2 separate regions of the Homo sapiens genome follow, and region 1 is linked to region 2. The links are contacts of gene promoters, found by promoter capture Hi-C in blood cells and fetal thymus (Javierre and others, 2016). All regions are on one chromosome and are shown on one strand. Each heading gives the region's core, a stretch centred on a gene start or on the middle of the fragment in contact. The rest is flanking DNA. Distances are from core to core; before and after follow the strand shown. Region 1 overlaps ACOX3 (acyl-CoA oxidase 3, pristanoyl). Region 2 holds the start of HTRA3 (HtrA serine peptidase 3).

Evidence for each region. The method cuts DNA at HindIII sites, captures the fragments that hold promoters and counts their contacts. A CHiCAGO score of 5 or more calls a contact.
Region 1: a fragment that was not itself captured here is called in contact with the fragment with the promoter of HTRA3 in region 2 in 6 of 17 cell types (endothelial precursors, M0 macrophages, M1 macrophages and 3 more); the score reaches 12.6 in endothelial precursors.

What each region holds. Positions count from the first base shown.
Region 1 is chr4:8,384,378-8,387,601 of GRCh38, reverse strand. The region is part of intron 13 of ACOX3 (acyl-CoA oxidase 3, pristanoyl); the gene reads left to right. Among named protein-coding and RNA genes, the nearest start is that of ACOX3, 55 kb to the left of the region's middle. The HindIII fragment of the contact is 380 bases long and covers 1,337-1,716 here.
Region 2 is chr4:8,268,138-8,271,223 of GRCh38, reverse strand. It overlaps HTRA3 (HtrA serine peptidase 3), which reads right to left and starts at 1,470. Exons shown (of 9, transcript NM_053044.5): 1 at 871-1,470. The coding sequence starts at 1,255. It overlaps LOC105374373 (a long non-coding RNA gene), which reads left to right and starts at 1,043. Exons shown (of 2, transcript XR_001741572.2): 1 at 1,043-1,117; 2 at 1,828-2,618. The HindIII fragment of the contact is 2,501 bases long and covers 841-3,086 here.

The DNA of each region.
Region 1 (3,224 bases), core at 277-2,776, 120 kb before region 2:
CGCGTATCACAGAGAACAGCTCAAAGCCGCAGCAACGCCTCCATCTCGCCATCGCCTCACTCAGCAGTATTTAGTGAATGTCTTCACTTTGCCACCAAAGCACCTATTTGTGCAGAAGAGAAGGGCCGAGAGGGGTCCCGACGCCCTGTCCCGGCGGGCCAGGTAGAAACTGACTGCTCCCGTGACACCCGAGACGTGGAAGAGTAGCCCACCTTCCTGAGTGAGAGAGACGTCAGCTCCCGCCAGGCTGCCGGGGTTGATCCCGGTCCCTCCTCCTGCTGGCCGTGGAACCTACACCAAGTCCCTCAGCCTTCCTGCCTCGGTTTCCTCATCTGCAGCACGGGGACGGGGATGGTACCCCCTTCATAAGGTGTTTGTACCGTGGACTGAGTTCATGCACGTAAAGCACTTAGTGCAGCACTTGGCGCCACATCAGTGCTCAGCTCAGCAGCCACAGAGTTTGGACAGGAACCGCCCTCGAGGTGCCACACGTTCAACTGGGCAGATAGAGCGGGGACTTGGAGATGGAGGATGCTCTTGGCTTTGCATTCAGGAGACCAGAATGTGAGGCTTCCCTGGGGTTCTGGGAGGCCCCTGGATCCTCGGGAGGAGGGAGCACTGGCCTCCCTCATGCAGGGGACAGGCACACATGGAGGACGCGTTCCAGCCATCAGGACCGACGCCGTGGATGTGATAGCAGCCCCCGAGCGTGTGTCCTTGTCCGTCTCCAGCCCTACAGGCTACTTCCTTGTTCACACGGCAAAGAACAGGACAACAGCCGTGGCCGAAGCCGGTGTGGAGCCTGGGCCGGTCCGGCTTCCCAGCGCCTTCCCCTGCCCGCACCGTCAGCATCGTCATCAGGAAGCGTCTGCATCACTGCTTGCTTTCTCGTGGTCACTGCGCTGGGTTACAGCTTCTGACGGTAACTAACCGTGCAGATCTTAGCCTGCCTTTTTGGGTGCCAGTGGGAAACGGGGACACGTTTGATGACCTATTTCTGATGTTTGCAAGTCACTTTCTTTTTTTTTTTTTTTTTGAGACGGAGTCTCGCTCTGTCGCCCAGGCTGGAGTGCAGTGGTATGATCTCGGCTCACTGCAAGCTCCACCTCCCAGGTTCTCGCCATTCTCCTGCCTCAGCCTCCGGAGTAGCTGGGACTACAGGAGCCCACAACCACACCCGGCTAATTTTTTGTATTTTTAGTAGAGACGGAGTTTCACCGTGTTAGGCAGGATGGTCTCGATATCCTGACCTCGTGATCCGCCCACCTTGGCCTCCCGAAGTGCTGGGATCACAGGCATGAGCCACCACGCCCGGCCGCAAGTCACTTTCTAAGCTTCCCAAATGTTGCCACAGAAAGAACTAGAAAATGACCTAATCATTGTGGTAACTTCAACCCAACCAATACCTTTTTCCTAAAACCATCACTCCTTATATTAATAAAATCAAAACATAAATGGGACAGCCAGCTTCTCCATGTGCCCATCACGCTCTGCTCTTCCCTCCCCTTCCCCTGAGACTGAAAGCAAAAGCAATTTTACAGTCTCTCCATCATCAGGAAAGACACCAAAGTCATCTGCTTTTCTGCAACTGCTCTAATATTTACAAGATGCAACAAAGTGAAAACGTTTTCCGGAGTAACAAAGGCAAATGGCTTTCACTTGTTCAAAGTGGTATGGGAGAGAGACCGCCATTATCCCTCACGCCGCAGGGAAGCTTGTGGGTTCTGCCAGCCCCATCGTCTCAAGGGCATTTGGTCACAGATCCCAGGTCTCAGGGCTGACTGCAGCCTGCGTCATGTGGATCTTTGGTAAAAGCTGTTTAAGTGATGTGGGGCCCTCAGGCTCTGCAGGACTGGAGAGACACAGGCCCCTTCCGGGGTTGCGCTTGCCTGTGAGGAAGGGTGGAGGATTTGCCAAGCCAATGGCGGGTCCTTCAGGGGTTCGATTCTGACTTGGGTAGGGGAGGCTGGGTTTTCTGTTGAGTTCCTCTGATTTTTGCACAGGCATTTTTGCACTGAGCTGAGTGTCACAGCCCTGTGCCTTGGGGGCCTGTGCTGTTGCTTCCTGCAGTGGGCCCTGTTGTTTAGCTGGCTCGTATGCATTCATAGTAAGCAGTTGCAGTGTTCACTACTCGGACACGTGTGTATTTGTGGACTGCAAGGTCATGGGATGTGGGCCAGAGGTGACATAGGGTCATGTGTGAGCAGTGGGGTCACATGGGGTGAGTGGTGAGGTCACGTGGAGTGCACAGTGAGGTCATGTGAGGTGAGCAGTGAGGTCACAGGTGAGCGGTGGAGTCACGTGGGGGAGCGGTGAGGTCACGTGGAGTGCATGGTGAGGTCATGTGAGGTGGGCAGTGGGGTCATATGAGGTGAGCAGTGGGGTTCGTGGTGCAGACAGTGCTCCCAGAGGGTGGGAGCACAGGCTATTGGGTCAGCACTGCCCCCCGCTGTGACCTTGAGCTAGGCTTTAATCTCTCTGAGCCTGTTTTCCTTCTGCGAGACAGTGGGGAGGGAATGCGGTCACCCCATGCCACCTGGCAGGGGCCAGGCCATGGTGCCCTCGGTGGGGGGCTGCTGCGTGTGGGGGGCCACAGTCCTGAACACTTCCTTGGAAACAACAGATGCAGGTGAGGTCTGCCTTGGTGGGTCAGGGAATGTCTCCCACAAAACTGGCACCTGAGGGTGTCTCAGAGGGTCCGTGCGTTGTGCTTTTGGGGAGCACCGGCCATTCAGGAGCACCAGAGCGGCGGGCATGGTCAGACCCGGGCCTGTGATCTGGCTGAGGAGTTGGGGCCGCTGTCCAGGCCTTGCTTTCCAGGGCTTGCCTGGGTCAGAATCCGAGTTAGGAGTGCTCTGATGCTGACGCAGAGGGGACTGGACCCAGAGACGGGAGAGGAAACCGAGACCCGAAAGGCAGGCAGTGCATGCGAAGAGCTCACCATGGGGTCAAGGACAGAGCCCCAGCTGGGGAGGGGGCAGATCGAGGGGCAGTCATTGGGTGCACAGGGCGGCTGGGGGCACCTTCGAGAGTCCTTCTGGTGTGAGGCACATGGAAAGGCCGTGGTGACCCAGGATTCTGGGAGAGTCTTGAGGACAGAGGTTGTTGACGCTGGGTGTGTCCTCAGGCCGCCAGCAGCCGCATTCCGAGCAAGAGAATTCACTGCCCGTCAGTGCCCGTTTTCCTGCCTAGTTTGTTTCAGCGATACTTTTTCACTTCCACAT
Region 2 (3,086 bases), core at 221-2,720:
GAAGCCCTCTGCAGGCTTCCCAGGAGCCCCGGCAGTTGGTGCTCCCCATGGTGCTCCTGAGGCTCCACGGAGCCTGTTCTGGCAGCTACTGCATCTCTCCCTGCCACCTGCAAGCTGATGGCACGCAGGACCCTGACTCCTATCCATGAACCTGGGGCCCGTCGCCTGTCTTCAGTGAACCCCTGTCCGGCCACAGCAGAGTCTGCTTTCCTAAGAGGCACCCCAAACAGGGAAAAAGGTACAGCAGGTTTTCCAGCATTTTCCTCCACGTACAGAGTCAACCTGCACGGTGAGATGCAACCTAGAGCCGACTGCCTCAAGGGAGGCTGTTCTAGGGTCTGACCCCGACATTCTCTCCCCCAAGCAGCCTCTCCCTGGGGCGCCCTAAGCAGTTCAGGGACCTGCACCCTGACCCTTCCCACACAGTCCTGTGGAGACATGCACTTAACCACAGTCTCCAGGAAAGAAGGCATCACCCAAGAGGGCACCCCGGCTGGAGAGTTAGGGCAGGAAAGAGTGCCCTTCACTCAATACCCGGACAGAGCAGGGGTCCAAGGATCAAGGGAATGGGCACGAGACATCAGTTCTGAAGAGACCAGAGCTGGAAACAGTCCTAGATGAGGCCCCTCGGGTGGCCAGGAGACCACCGGGTTTCCCTTTTGACTCTAATTCTGTGACCTTGGGGACAGCGGTTTACCTTTCCGGGCCTCAGTTTCTTCATCTGAAAGACCAGAGGGCTGGTGGGATGATTTCTGAAGGGCCACCCGGTGGTGCCCAGGGAAGGGCGACCTCGAGCTCGGCCCTAACTCCCGGCCTTAGTTTCCCCAAGAGAAAGAAGCTTCACTTCCTCCCTGGCCCCCGAGCGCTTACCCAACGGGCAGGCGCCCTTCTGCAGCTGGCGCACGGGCGTCCCGGAGAGCTGCAGCGCGCGGCGGCTGGCCGCCTGCAGCGCGCACACGTTGGCATAGGTGTGCCCGTCGGTGCCACACACGGCGTGCGACCAGCGGCAGCGGCATAGGCCGCGCACGCACTCCAGGCTCTCGCCGCAAGGCGAGTCCAGAGGGCCGCCACAGGGCTCGCCCTCGCTGGCGGCGCACACCAGGCAGCAGTTGCAGAGGTCGGGCACGTAGCCGCCGGGGCAGCGGGGGCTGGGACACCGCGACACGTCGCAGCGCGCGGGACACGGCGCCGCAGGGGGCTCCCGGGCCAGCGCCAGCGCGGCCAACGCGGCCAGGAGCAGCGCTCGCGCCTGCATGGCGGCAGGGCCGGCGGCGGGTGGCAGCGCGGGAGACCGGGCGGGGGCCGGCGGGGACAACGAGGCCGCTGCGGGGCCGGGCGCCGGGCGCCTACGGATGGGACTGGGGCGGACGCGCGGTCACATGCGCCGGTGGCTCAGGCTGGCGGGCGTCAGGGCGGCAGGGGCATCCCCAGGGCGCAGGGAGCGCAGGGACCAGCTCCCTCCAGCCTGACGGTCCGCGGGCGGCGGGTCCCGCGCCTTTAAAGGCGACCGCCCAGCCCGCCCTCGCTGGAAGGGGCGGCCCGGCCCCTCCGCCAGCCCCGCCCAGGCCCCGACAGGGCCCCGCCTGGCCTTCCGGGCCTGGACCCACCCGGCAGGCCTTGGGACTCTGGTCGGCCTGGTCGAGAAAACCCGAGGCTACAGACACGCAGGGGTCCTTTCTGGTGGGGACCCCCGGGCCCAGCCTATCCCAGAAACGTTGGGGGATGCGTTCTCCCCGCTCTGGAGGGGTCTGTCCGTGTCCAGTCTCCTCTGTGCCTCAGTTTCCTCCTCCAGGAAAGGGGAATTGACAGCATTTCTCAACCTCATAGGGTCGTTGGAAGAACCACAGAGGCCATGGCTGAGCAGTGTTCCCGAGTCCTCGCTGTCCACGGAACCGGAAGCTGTTTCCATTCTCATCATTGCTCCTGCATTTTCTGCAGGGCCCCTTCAGACCCAGGTCCCATCACGAGAGTCAGAATCTGGTGACAGTGCGTCAGCTGATGGGGTGAAGGCTGCGGAGTTGTGAGAGAAGGCAGAACCCCCCTTGGAGGTGAATGTCAAGCCTGAAGAGGAAGGATGGGAAGCGGGAGCTGGCCGTGACCTGGGCAGAGGCTCCCAAGCAAAAGCAGGTCGGGGCAGCAGGAGATAACGCCGCGCGCACAGCCTGGAGCTGCGGTCTTCACACTGTGTGTGTTCCTAGTACCCTGGGCTGCCTGGCGAAGCCTGGGTGTCCTTTTCAGAACGATGTCGTCAAGTAGATTTAAACGCATAAAACAAAGACCATGGGGTCACAAAGGGGAACAATTCTATCAAAACACAGTTATCAAAATACATGAAACAATTCATGACAGCGTGGCCTATGGGCTTCTTTATCAGCATGTTAATGGCAGGTTCTGGTCGGTCTGTCGTCTGATACCAGTGGACACTTCGCAGCAGCCCTGTGCAGAGGGCTGCCACTGGAGACACCTTCGGTGAGGGCGGTAACATGGGGATGTAAACACTGCTTCTGCTGGCCGTGGAGCCACAGGCCCTGCTGGCTGGGGTCAACTGCACCCCCAAAGGAATGAATGCTGGACTTCAGTTGGAGTTGTTGGGGTAAATAAAGACGTTTTTCCATCCAGGTTCACAGATACCCAAGTTAAGAATGGGGAGGGGTACCTCTGGTCCAGAGGAGGGAGGGGGAGCTGGAGGTTAAAGGGCCTCGGGGAATGGGAAGGTGGAGGGGCCTGATCCCTGAGGGCCCTGGGTCCTCAAAGGCCTGGGGAGGCGTTGAGTAGGGAGCGGCCCCATCAGACAAGATGTCTGGGGAGGATGAGGTGGGAGGAGGCGGGGCGCCAAGTGTGAGCCCCCATAGGACCCAGAGAGAGTGAAAGGTTGAAGGGTCCCAGGGGACGGGGAGAGAAGGGACCTGGAGCTTCTCCCCCTAAAAGGCCCTTTGACAAGGGGCAATAGCACCTGCGTTTCTGCCTCTACAAACCTCAAGTGCACTTTACTTTGAAGATGTGGAGAATTTCAGGCCATTTTTTGGAATGACCCAGAATGCTAGGAGTTGGGGACCTCAGGGCTGGGCTGAACCTCCCTCAACCTT